2 separate regions of the Homo sapiens genome follow, and region 1 is linked to region 2. The links are contacts of gene promoters, found by promoter capture Hi-C in blood cells and fetal thymus (Javierre and others, 2016). All regions are on one chromosome and are shown on one strand. Each heading gives the region's core, a stretch centred on a gene start or on the middle of the fragment in contact. The rest is flanking DNA. Distances are from core to core; before and after follow the strand shown. Region 1 overlaps LEMD1 (LEM domain containing 1). Region 2 holds the start of CDK18 (cyclin dependent kinase 18).

Region 1 (6,679 bases), core at 3,956-6,455, 120 kb before region 2:
GACTCCTCCTATATATGGATCTATTAGAGATAGGAAAAAAACAAAAGTGTTTTTTCATTTATTTGTTTGTTTTGGGGTTTTTTGTTGTTGTTGTTTTGTTTTTTTGAGACAGGGTCTCACTTTGTCACCCAGGCTGGAGTGTAGTATCGAAACCATGGCTCACTATATCCTCGACCTCCAGGGTTCAACGATCCTCCCACCTCAGTCACCCAAGTAGCTGAGGCTACAGGCATGCACCACCATACATGGATAATTTTTGTATTTTTTGTAGAGACAGGGTTTTGCTATGTTGCTTAGGCTGGTCTCAAACTCCTCAGCTCAAGCGATCTGCCCGCCTCAGCCTCCCAGAGTGTTGGGATTATAGGTGTAAGCCACCATGCCTGGCCAACCAAAGTGTTTTTTTCTACTCCCACCCACCACAACAGTTCTGACACCAGATGTGTGGGTTTTTTCCCCACACACCAAGCAATTCTGGCACCAAATTCTCCATCAGACACCAACTGGATGCCCTATAATTTAATTCAATTCCAACACTGTCTGCCTAGGCACAGCATCAGATCCCACAGGTTCGGGGCTCAGTCTCAGAAGACTGCCCCCCACTTCCAATGCCAGTTAAGAACCCTACATTGTGACCTGTGCTTCTGAACAACCGACTATAAATCAAGGTTCCTAGGACCCTCTCCTTGGGTTAGATTAATTTCCCAGGGTGGTTCACAAAACTAAGGGAAACACTTCCCTTACATGTATTGGTTTAATAATAAAGGGTGCAGATGAGCATTCAGATGGAAGAGATGCACAGGGTGAAGCATGTGGGAAGGGGCACGGAGCTCCGCGCTGTTTCTAGCACTCCACCCTCCAGGCATCTCCACAGGTTCAGCTACCCAGAACCTGCTTCTGAACCCACTCCTTCTGGGTTTTTATAGCGGCTTCATTATGGAGGCAAGATTGATTAAATCACTGGCCATTGATGATTGACTTAACCTTCAGTTCATCTCCCTTTCCTGGAGTTTGGGGGGATGGGACTGAAAGTTCTAACCCTAGAATCCTGCCTTGATCTTTCTGGTGACCTGTCCCCATCCTGAAGCTATCTAGTGGCCGCCAGCCACCAGTCATGTCAAATAGCATAAAAAAGACACTTACCATTCAGGAGATTCCAACAGTTTTAGGAACTGTGTGCCAGGAACCGGGGCAGAGACAAAATATAAATTTTTTATTATATCACTATATCACAGCATCTGATAGGGATGGGCCACCACAATGCTTCCCAAACTTTAATTTGGGTAGGAATCACCTGGGATCCTGTTGAAATGCAGATTCTGGCTCAGTAGTTGGGACGGAGCCTGAGATGCTGATACTGCTGGTTGGGAACTCACACCTTGAATGGTCAGACACAAAAGTAATTGTCTGTGCAGTCTCTTTAAACTGATTCCAGAATTCTAACATAAAAGAACTGGGAAAAGTTGAAAATAATGGAGGAAACTTTCTAGAAGTTTTATTTTTTATCATGTTTGGTTTTATTAAGAACGGAAGTATTGGTGGAGCGCAGTGGCTCACGCCTGTAAACCCAGCACTTTGGGAGGATCACATGAGCCCAGGAGTTCGGAACCAGCCTGGGCAACACGGTGAAACCCCATCTCTATAAAAAATACAAAAAAAATTAGCCAGATATGGTGGCACATGCCTGTAGTCCCAGCTACTCGGGAGGCTGAGGTGGGAGGTTCACTTGAGCCCGGGAGGTGGAGGTTGCGGTGATCCACCACACTCCAGCCTGGGTAATAGAGTGAGACCCTGTCTCAAAACAAACAAACCAAACAACACAACAGAAGTTTTCTTTTTTAAGTGCATGTGGCCACCACTGTAGGTTGGCTCTGCTTACTCCTATGACCAATCCTCTTCTCCCTCTTCTAACACAGAGGCTGCCAAGGCTCCAGCGCCCACTTTCTCAGCCTCCCTTGCTGCTCAGGATGAAATATGTAGAGCTGGAGAAGAGACATGGTTAGTCCTTACGTCCTGCCTTAAATGATGATGTGATGGCCATTATCTGGATCCTTCATGGAATTTCGGCAGTTCCAACGTGTCAGGCCAGTGTCTGGGATTCTCTCAGCCTTTCGCTTTTTCCCCTGGGAGTCGGACAGCTGCTGCAGCTCAGTCAGACCAAACCTCTCTGAATACCACCAAGAATCGGGTCAGTTTCGCATCTCCTTGATCATAATTTTTTCTGCAGCTGGTTTGTTTGAATCAGAATTATATTACATTTTTGGTCATTTTAAACAATATTGGACATCTTAAACTCTAGACTTTTTTTTGTTTTTGAGACGGAGTTTCAAAAAACTCAGGCTGTAGTGCAATGGCATGATCTTGGCTCACCGCAACCTCCACCTCTCGGGTTCAAGTGATTCTCCTGCCTCAGCCTCCCGAGTAGCTGGGATTACAGGCATGTGCCACCACGCCTGGCTAATTTTGTATTTTTAGTAGAGACACGGTTTGTCCATGTTGGTCAGGCTGGTCTTGAACTTCCAACCTCAGGTGATCCTCCCACCTAGGCCTCCCAAAGTGCTGGAATTACAGGGTTGAGCCACAGCGCCTGGCCCTAGACTTCTTTTTATGAGATAAAAATAAATCTCTGTTTAAGCCAGTCTTACTAGAGTTTTATGATCCTTGCATTCAAACTGTAATACAGTATGCAGTTTTTCAAAAATTTCTTCTTCTTTTTTTGTTTTATAGGCAGGATCTTGCTATGTTGTCCAGGCTGGTCTCAAACCCCTGGCCTCAAGCGATCCTCCCACCTCAGCCTCCCAAAGTGCTGGGATTACAAGCATGAGCCACCACATCCAGACAGAATGCAATTTTTAAAAATTAATATTTATATTCTCTCATTAGCAAACTGATACACACTACTTACAGAAATCTTTAAAAATATTTAAAAAGTAGAAATAGGGGGAAAAATTAGAGCTCCAGTCACCGAAGTACTCTTAACATTTTGACATATTTTCTTCCAGTGTTGTGCAGTTGTGATAATATGGTACAACAAATTTGTGTCCTTTTTTGTTTACCATTAAAATGAGCACCTTAAGAATTTCTTTTTGGAATGATGAAAATATTCTAAAATTTATTGCGGGAATGATTGCATAACCCTATGAATATACTAAAAATCATTGAACTGTAACCCTCAGTAGGTGAATTATATGGCATATAAATTATTTATCTCTCTCTCTACATATATATATTTTAAGAGATAGGGCCCAGGCTGGAGTGAAGTAGTGTGATCACAACTCACTGCAGCCTTGAACTCCTGGACTCAAGCAATTCCCCTATCTCAGCCTTCCACAATAAAGCTATTTTTTAAAAAAATTTTTAAATAAGCATTTTCAGGCTGGGCATGGTGGCTCATGCCTGTAATCCCAGCACTTTGGGAGGCCGAGGCAGGTGGATCATGAGCCCGGGCTGTTGCCCAGGCTGAAGTGCAGTGGCACGATCTCTGCTTACTGCAACCTCTGCCTCCTGGGTTCAAGTGATTCTCCTGACTCAGCCTCCCGAGTAGCTGGGACTACAGGCATGCGCCACCACACCCGGCTAATTTTTTGTATTTTTAGTAGAGACAAGGTTTCGCCATGTTGGCCAGGCTGGTCTTGAACTCCCGACCTCAAGTGATCCACCCACTTCGGCCTCCCAAAGTGCTGGGATTACAGGCGTGAGCCACCATGCCCAGCCTTTGGTGCTTTTTTGTACCTAGAATTAGCTCCTCCCATATTGTGCCAAAGTGTAACATTGCTTAAGCATTTATTGAGTGCTTGCTACAAGTCAGGTGTGGACCACACTAAGTCCACTACTCACATTATTTCCTCAAATTCTTCATCACCCTAAGAGGCCTATTCTACCCCTATTTTTGAAAGCTGAAATTGAAACTCCAGGAGGACAACTAACTCACCCAAGGTCACAGGGCCGATAAAGAGAGGAGCCGGGTGCCTACACAGCTCTGCCTGGTCCCTGAGGCCATGGTTATTACATTCCTTTGTCAGATGGTAATTTTTTAGAACCTTGCTAAGTTTCAAAGGCAAAAATGCTATCCTGTTCTAAATTGTTTTCATGGTGTTGGACATTTCTTTGTGTTTACTAAACTAGACACATTCTTCTGCTGTAAATTAGCTGTTTCCCAGAATTGGCTATACAATTGGAGGAGTGAATAAAATGCGACCTATGGCTTGTCACCATACTTAGAAAGAAAAACGCCAGACAGTTTCCTTGTTTGACGCCTGCTCAAATATGGAAGCACCTTTAATGAGAGTTGACATGACTTGGGGGATTTCCTAACCATCATGCTCTTAACACAGGTGCCTGGTTAGGCAGGTTCCTTCCACCTGGCTGAGCCCAGACACCGATCTGTGAGAGCAGCACAGTGCAAGGGAAGGCTCCCTGCAAGGGAGGGCTGCAGGCTAGGCTGGCCCTTCAGGGTAGTGTTTTGGTTCTTTCCTGAAGCAGGAGGCCTCGCTTGGAGCATTGCTTTGCTCCTAAATTACTTAACCAAACAGCGACTTATTTTCCACAGTCAGGTAGACAAACACCACAATGATGAAAATACCAAGCACAGCAAGCTTCAAGCCCACTGGGAAACCTTCTTCTCTCCAGCTCTCGATAGTCTGGTCTTCCGCGCAGTAGTCTCTCTCTTTGGTGATAGTCCCATATGTGATTCTGGTGCTTGGTGCTCTTGCAGCCCACCTGTGAAAACATCAGTGGCTCTTAGGATTGTGGACAGCTGTGGTGCACTTGAGTAGCCCCTTAAAGTGTGTGGGTCTTGAAGCCCAAGGGTGCAGTCATGGTGGGGCTTTAGAGGTAGCCTCTCCTTACTAAAAACCTAGGCTAATTTCTTTTTTTTTCTTTTAAGACAGGATCTTGTTCTGTTGTCCAGGCTGGAGTGCAGTGGTACAATCACAGCTCACTGCAGCCTTAACCTCCTGGGCTCAAGACATCCTCCCACGTCTGCCTCTCGAGTAGCTCGGACCACAGGTACATGCCACCACCCCCAGCTAATTAAAAAAAAAAATTTCGTAGGCCAGGTGTGGTGGTTCACACCTGTAATTCCAGCACTTTGGGAGGCCAAGGCAGGCAGACTGCTTGAGCCCAGGAGTTCGAAACCCTGTCTCTACAAAAAATATAAAAATTAGCTGGGCATGGAGGCTGAGATGGGAGAATCAGTTGAGCCGAGGAGTTTGAGGCTGCAGTGTACTATGATTGTGCCACTGCACTCCAGCCTGGGTGGCAGAATGAGACCCTGTCTCCAAAAAAATTAAAAAATAAATTTTTTTGTAGAGACGAGGGCTCACCATGTTGCCCAGGCTGGTCTCAAACTCCTGGGCTCAAGGGATCCTCCCACCTCAGCCTCCCAAAGTGCTGGGATTACAGGCGTGAGCCACTGTGCCCAGTCTCTAATTTCAACAAGTGATACTAACAGCGTATTGGGGGATATGAGGTCTCTCAAATCCCACAAAACATTTCTTCATTGTTTCCACCCACTTGTGTATCACTTCTCAATGCCGGCATAAAGCCTGACTTGGCACAGGCCTTGCAGATCCCCAAGTCCTCGCTGGGAAATTGTATAAGTGGATGGGAAGCCTCAGTACTCAGGCCCCCTCCTTCCTCCCTTCTCAAGTACAAACACCACCTTTCAGGGTGGAGAGGAAAAGCGCCTTTGCAATCTGCTTATTTTGCACTTAAAAAGGCAAGAGTACTTTCTGAAATTTTTTTGCAAGAGCCTTATGTTTCCACTAGCCTAATTCTGCAAAACCTGCTGAAGTTTATTCAGAAGTTAGGAAACTCTCCAGAAAGCTTTACTTTCTGACTAATACAATTGCCTGTCTTGAGCTTTTATTTGAACTACTTACTCTTTTTATTCGTTTTTAAAAATTGATACATAATAGATTTACATATTTGAGGGTATATGTAATTTTATATTACATACATATTTTTTTGAGACAGGGTCTCACTCTGTTGCCCAGGCTGGAATGCAGTGGCGTGATCATAGCTCACTGCATTGCAGCCTTGAACTCCTGGGCTCAACTAATCCTTCTGCGTCAGCCTCCCAGGTAACTGGGACTGTAGGCACATACCACCATGCCTGGCTAATTTTTAAATTTTTCTGTAGAGACAGGATCTCACTATTTTGCTTAAGCTGATCTCAAACTCCTGGCCTCAAGTGATCCTCCTACCTCAGCCTCCCAAAATGCTGGGATTACAGGCATGAGCCACTGTGCCCAGCCAACATGTGCTATTCTGATACCTTCATATAATGTGTAAAGATCAAATCAGGGTAATTAGGATATCCACCACCTTAAATATTTATCTTCTCTTTATGCTAGGAATGTTTAAATTATTCTCTTCTAGCTATTTTGAAGTGTTCAATAGGTTATTGTTAACTAAAGCCACTCTTCTGACCTATTGAACCCTAGGTCTTATTTATCCTATTTAACTGTGTATTTATATCCTTTTTTTTTTTTCTTTTTTCTTTTTTTTTTTTGAGGCAGAGTCTCGCTCTGTCACCCAGGCTGGAGTGCAGTGGCATGATCTCGGCTCACAGCAAGCTCCGCCTCCCTGGTTCAAGCAATTCCCCTGCCTCAGCCTCCCGAGTAGCTGGGATTACAGGCGCATGCCACCACGTCTGGCTAATTTTTTTGTGTTTTTAGTA
Region 2 (6,742 bases), core at 3,824-6,323:
ATCAATCAACTCTCTTGGTCCAAAAGTCTCAAAATTCTTAAGGTTTCCTGAAAAGAAAATCTACGGTTCCTATCCCTATCTATTAGTTGAGAAATAATTTCATTACATTTCACTATAATCCAAGTAGGAGTCTTTGACCCCATTCTCTAGGTGAGCAAACAGAGACCCAGGGGTAAAGAATGGGCTTAGAAAGCCCAGGTAAACCAGCTGTCTCTCCTCTCCCACCCTGCATACGGGTCCTCTCAGTGGCCCACCCCAGCCAGTGTGGCCTGCAGCCTCACCCCAAAGACTCTTCTAGTCTTGTTCCTAAGGACCACTTTCCCATTTACACCAGCTTTGTGTGGTGATTCTGTTGTCATGGCAATGCATCAACCTGAAGGGGGTGGGGTGTGTGTGTGTGTGTGTGTGTGTGTAAGTTTGGAAGGCACCGCTGGATGTAGTGGTGGGGTTCTAATTGGTTTGATAGTTGCTAGGGTCAACTGGTCTGTGATTGGCTGACTCTATTTATGGGTCCACCCTGTCCTAGAACCCTCTGGGGATGCAGCTGTTGCCTCATCTGAAGTCTAGAATGGTGTGTGTGTGTGCGTGCATGTGCATGCACATGTGTAAACACATGCATAAATGCACACATGCCTGTACTTTCACCACAAATAGCGAAGGGAGGATATGACACTTGGTGAAGTGATAAAGCAGAAAGTCCCAGGCTCTCTGCTGGAATCACACTGCTACAGGTAAATGATATTTTTCTCCTAATCATCCCCACTTCTCATAAATCACTGGAAAACAATGGCCTAGGTTTAGCCAGAGGAGGAGTAAGAATTGGCTCAGTCTAGCCAAGTCCTGCTGTCCCAATGACTCACAGACCTCTAACTAGCTAGGCCATAATGGGTCAGTCCATCTTCAGGTCTCTGCTGCCAATCTCCCTCCTGCCTGCCAAGGGCAGGCTGTTGAGGTGAGTTTCTCTGTTCTCACTTAGCTTCTCATTTCTCATGTCTTTACTTGATTCCTGGAACCCTAAAAAGGGCCCTCTGGACAAACACTAATGATCTCATACACATGCAGGTCGTTCTACAGTGTGCAAAGCACTTTCACAGTCACCTTTGCATTTAGTTCTCCCATCCTGAAAGATAGGTATTCACACTATTCCCCTTTTGCTATAGAGGAAAACAGAGGCCCAGAGAAACAAAGTGATTTCTGCACCTTAGGGGCGGAGTCAAGTCTCCGGCCTCCCAAATGTCCCTGCAGTGCTTTCAGAGACTGTGCCTGCTCGGATATAGGGCCAGAGGGGAAGGGAGCCCCTGACAATGTGCAGAAAAGAGATTCTCTGTTGGCTGAACTCTCCCTGTCTGGATGCTGTGCCTCCCAGGGGAAAGTGGGGCGGGCTTGAACTTTGGTTTTTCAGATGCTATTCAAATGCACTGCCCACACAGTCTGCGAGGGAGAGCTGTTTCCAGCTTCCCTGCTCAGCCCTCAGGCACCCAGGGACGCCTGTCCTATCTGCAGAGCAGTGGCATGTCACTGGCAGCGAGGAGGAGACAGGAGCAGAGTGGGCAGTGGGCTGAGCTGCTGCTGGGGCCACCATTGTCATGCTGCTCAGGCCTGCCAGCATTACACTGCTACATGGCTAGGGTGACCAGGGCCTCCCGGGGATGCCACAGATCCATTAGACTAGCAGAGGGGAAGGGGGCTGCAGGACCCACAGGGGATGGGCCCCAGGGGCTGGGGTGCCAGGGAAACCCCCAGCTGAGGGTCTGTTGTCTGTCCCTCTGCAAGGAGGGAGTTAATGGGCTGCAGAAAAGAGAAACAGCATTGATTGGGTGCCAAGTTTACATCCTATTGAAACCTCACAACAGCCCCATGAGAGAGGGACTATTACCATCTCCATGTTATGGACAGGAAAGGAAGTCAGATATGTCAGTAACTGCCCAAGGTCACACAGTTTACATGGCTTTAAAGCTCAAAGTATTGCTTGGTAAGGCAGCAGGGAAGGAGCCCCTCCTTAGTGGAAGTCCTAGGTAGTGCTGCTTCTACTGTGTTTGGCTTATTGCAAGATGCACAGAAAGAAAGTTGGCATCGGAGGGCAGGGGACACCAAGGGGTTCAGAGGGAATTTTTGAAATGGTACAGATGAGAAGCAGAAAAATTAGGCTGACCCAAAGAGCACACATACACAGGCCACTGATGTGTATGACTGGGTATCATGGACTCCCTATCCAGCTAGTAAGCCCTGCCCAGGGTCACTCTTATCTGGTTCCCCCCTCCCACCTCCCATCTGCACTTGCCCTTTCCTGGGGTGGCCAAAGCTTGTTGTGCCATTCTCTGGGCTCCATATAGATGCCCACCTGCAGTTCATCCTCTTCCTTCAACCCTGAGAACCAAGACGATGCTTCAAAACTGAAGCTTTCAGAGATTCTGAAGCAATCCCATGTGGTGGTGGTGGGGCAGGGGGTGATGTGACAGGCTCTGAGCAGGTGGCTGGCCCTACATCATTTCAGCTGTCATCTCTCCTCTGTGGAGCTGTCCCAAATTCTCTTGGGCAGAGTTAAGGGCTTCTTCCTCTGCTCAGCCCATATTGCCTTGGTAGGTGACTGCCTCTGCATATCTTTCTCCACCTGAACAGTGAACTACATGAGAATAGGAACTGAGACTTAAAATCATCTATCCAATGCAAGGATCCAGTATAGTCCTTGTCACATAGCAGGTGTTCAATAAATGTTTGTTGAATGCATGAATGATGGTAATTATATTTACTATCTATTGAGTTCTCCATTATGAGCCAAGTCCTATGCCAGGCCCTTAGCATACATTACCCTAATATGTACAACAACCATACAAGATTGATTTTAGCAACTTTGTTCTACAGATGGCCTCAGAAAGCTTAGTTCGCTTGCCCAAGTTCACAGAGCAATCTAAGGAGGTGCTGGGAATCAAGGCTCACTTAAGAAGCTCCAAGGTCCCACTCAGCCTATCACATCAGTGCTTCTAATCTTGACACTGTTGGCTCCCTTATCTTCTAGAATCCAATAGTCACAAGGCTCCATGACCCTGTCTCCTACCTATCTCTCAAATCAGTTCCCTCCTCTCCTCCCTGCTGCCGCTGTGTGGTCTAAGCTCATTCTCATTTTCCACTAGGATCAGCCTCCACGTTGGGGGTCTTCAGGACCCAGCACCTGCCTGCCTCTACAGTGTCACCTCCACCCCAGACTTTAAGTTCTGACCTCATGGAACTGTGGGTCCATATTCTGTCACCCCTGCACTCTGCACAAGGGATTACCCCTCCTGGAAAAAACAGGGAAAATCCTTCCTCCTCTCTCTTGTCCCCTCATCCTGTAACCCTCACCTCAAGCAGAATAGCTCCTCCCAGGCATCCGTAACACTAAGCCTCCTCCTATAGCATCCTAACTGTTTGCTTCCCTGCCGCATTACACCAAGAGCTTCTTGAAGGCAGGGACTGGGTTATACTCATCTTATGTGCCCAGAGCCCTGGCTATCATTTGGCACATAAGAGATGTTGAGAAAGTGTTTGTGGAGACCTCTTGACTTCACCCCCCTAGTTCCTTGAAATTCTACCCTTTGGCCCCACTCTCTCTAATCCGCCAGTAAACAGTTCCTTGGCCATAGTCCTTCTCCCTTTCCCTCCCTGCCCCTTCCAAACCTCTTTATGGCCTCCTGCTCCCCAGGCTTCTCACCATCCACTGGACTACAGAGCCAGGAGGTTGCTGCACACCTAAAGGCTCTGGATCCATGCACCCCGACAACACTTGGCAGTTTCATTTTTAGGAAGTGCTGTGCCCAGGAAATCTGCATGCCTTGGCAGAGAAAGCGAGGTAAAAAAAAAAAAAAGAGTTGGGAGGCCCTCTGTGAGATGTCAACTACCCACAGGTCACTTTCATGCATGGGCCCAGTGTCTTCCTTCATTCTCCTGTCTCCAGCTGACAGTGGGACCTCAGGCCCATGTCTTCCAGAAGGAAACTGTTCTATTCTCAACAACTCACAGTCCCCAGGGAAAGGGTTCAGGTAGAAGCACATGTACACTGTGGAGCACCCCCTCCTAAGGAGACTTTCCCTGTGGGAGACCCCAGACTGCAGCAGCCAAGCCCTCTGGTAGGGCAGGGGACACAGACTGCCTTGATGAGGTGCCATAGAGCCAAGGCACACCTCCTCTCCTCACAGCCCTCAGGAGGAAGCAGAGATGAGAGGGGCCTGGCGGTGGGGCACTGTGCCCTTCACCCCCATCCCCAGATTTTTGTTTTGTTTTTTTTTTTGATCCTTGAAGTCAGATGATGTGGGTGCAATGGCCATTGGCCTGAGTTCTAATCATGGCTCGCCATGAACTCTTGTGGCACTTTAGGCCAGTTCAATTGCTTTGCTGGGCCTCAGTTTCCCCTTCTGTAAAATGAGAGTGCCACTAGCTGAACTAGCCATTCTGTAACCCTTCTTGGATGATTCTCAAATATCCTGTGGAGTTTAATTCCAAAAGGACAAGTTGAATTATCCTTCGGGGAGGGAAATGTGAATGATGGCTGGTAACAAGGGCTTCATTCAGGTCCTGGAGAGGTGGGAACTTTGTCCGGAAAGGTAAGTGACAAGTCCCACTGGATAGGGTAGAAGGGGAGCCCGAGGGCTACTATTGTCAAGAAAATGACCACCAAAATCTGTCCATGCACATTCGTTCCTAGGGCGCCAGGTACAGGGAGGTACCTAGGAGAGGTAGGAGCACCGCTTTTAGAGACAGGCAGGCACTCTCAGTGTACCCCTGGCGCCTTGGTGTCCTGGGGTGATCCAGTCCAGAAGGCCTCATCCCCTAGCCAAGGCTCTCAGGGCCGGTTTTAGAAACGAAACAGGAAGAGGCACTTGGACCCTGGTTCCCAGAGTGGGAGAAAGGGGTGGGCACCCGGGCAGAGGGAGCCCTGGGGATTGGTAGCGGCTGTGGGCAGGGCGGGAGGGCCGGGGGCGGAGTCAACTTGTACATGTGAAAAACTCTGGCGGGGGCCGGGCATTTTCCTTCCTCCTCCTCCTCCTCCTCCTCCTCCCTCCTCTTCCCCACCTTCCTCCACTCCCTCCCTTCCCCTCCCCTTCTACCTCCTCCTCGGCCAGCTCAGGTTGCAGCTTCTCTGGGGAACTGCTCACCTTTCCGGAGCAGGGGAAGCTGCCCCGTGCCCGGGAGGGAGCGGGCGCACCGCGGCCCCCAGGACACGCGCTGTGAGTCCCGCGGGCGGTGCGCCTGGGAGGAAGGGGGAGGTCGGAGGAGCGGGCACCGCGGCGCCGGGTATAAGGAGCAAAGGTAAGCGGAACGGCTCTTAAAGGCGCAGTTTTGCTTTTGCCCTGAGGCGAGAGGTTGGAGGGAAATACCGGAGCGGCGAGGGGAGAGCAGAGATCACGAGGCGTGATCTGTGTGATACTGTGTTGTGTGTTGAGGGGTGGGGGGTGCCCTCGAAAGGCCACTCGTAAGTTCCAGGTGCTTGAGAGGGAGGGTTATTTTGCAATCTCAGACCCCGCGCCCCCTTAGGGAGTCTCCATCTGGGATCACTTTGGCCCCTGGGCTCCCGTCTGAACCCTACAAAGCAAAGTTTTCCACCCAGTCCGGAACCAGGCGCTTTCTAAGCTCCCTTCATTCTGGGAAGGGCAAGGGTCAGGAGTCTCCAGGGACCAAAGGACCCGAGAGTGTGGGGCCACATCGCTGCCTTGAAGGGCTTCCTGGGCTCTGGTGAACTTTCCAGAGCGGCAGGCAGGGGGTGGGAGGCCGGAGCCCTGGGAAGAACGTGGAAGGACACGTGAAGCCCTGCAGGTCCCAGTTCTGGGGGAGGCAGGGGTCTGGGGAATGCTGCTGCTTCTCTCTTTCCACCCCGGAAGACCAAAGGGGCAGTGCCCCCCTCCACCCCTCATCAACAGGCGACAGAGGGTTAATGCAGCAGAGGGAAAGGAGGCTGGGTGGGGCCGGGGGGAGTGGGCGGTGACCTGTTGGGCTAAGGAGATGTGCCTTGAGGATTCTGCTGTAGTTGAGGGACACCATCAGGAATCTGAAATCCAAAATCGGGTCTGGACTGGAGGCCTCTGTTTTCGCCCTGTGGGGGGCGGGGATTCCCTGAAGGTGTCTGCAGACCTTGTGCTGGGTGGGAGTTGGGCTGCAGAAACAGTGAGGGGTTTTCTGTGCTGCAGGGTCAGCACCCTCCTAGGCACCAGCCCTGCCTCTCTTCATTCTCTCTGGGCACCTCCCGGCAGTCGGGGTGGGAGGATTGACACTGTGGGAGTGAGAGGCCCTGGAACCTCTTCCGCGCTATCTGCTACTGTCTCCCCTTCTTCCCCACCCCTAGCCCAGCCCTCGGCAGTTCCCCAGCTGTAGCCTGGGCCCTGTGACTCACTAACACCACCGGCTTGCCCCTCCTGTGTCAGCACCCAGTGAGCTTCGGCATGTTCGCGTGGCATTCCCCACCCGGGCATGGGCATGCAGCACATTCCTGGACACGGGCCTGAGAGGATGCCTGGAGCGCCTGGTGGACTGGCACGTCCTCAGAGATCCCCTGCCTTTAGCCTGGCCTTGGGAGGGGCCTGGGAAAACGGTGCTGAGGGTGCTGAGGGTCGGTGGAGTACAGGGCGACACTGGCTCCAGGTCCGGGTTTGCATCCTGAAGGCGTTCCAGAGAGAGGGTCACCTTGCCACAGCAAAGCTGCTATCTCGGGTTACCCTTTCCCAGCCACCTCTTGTGCAGCTGAGGAGGCTGTGGGGCTGACCCCTCCCCCACC

Evidence for each region. Contacts are between HindIII fragments. The CHiCAGO score rates a contact against its expected background, and 5 or more counts as called.
Region 1: a fragment that was not itself captured here is called in contact with the fragment with the promoter of CDK18 in region 2 in 1 of 17 cell types (endothelial precursors); the score reaches 5.6 in endothelial precursors.

The regions. Positions count from the first base shown.
Region 1 is chr1:205,377,141-205,383,819 of GRCh38, forward strand. It overlaps LEMD1 (LEM domain containing 1), which reads right to left. Exons shown (of 6, transcript NM_001199050.2): 6 at 4,238-4,716. The coding sequence ends at 4,518. LEMD1-AS1 (LEMD1 antisense RNA 1) reads left to right here. Exons shown (of 4, transcript NR_038425.1): 2 at 1,914-2,185; 3 at 4,887-5,004. It overlaps LOC105371698 (a long non-coding RNA gene), which reads right to left and starts at 1,510. Exons shown (of 3, transcript XR_922462.2): 1 at 1,292-1,510; 2 at 1,141-1,169; 3 at 1-20. The HindIII fragment of the contact is 1,231 bases long and covers 4,591-5,821 here.
Region 2 is chr1:205,499,596-205,506,337 of GRCh38, forward strand. CDK18 (cyclin dependent kinase 18) reads left to right here and starts at 5,074. Exons shown (of 16, transcript NM_212502.3): 1 at 5,074-5,201. The HindIII fragment of the contact is 14,965 bases long and covers 2,875-6,742 here.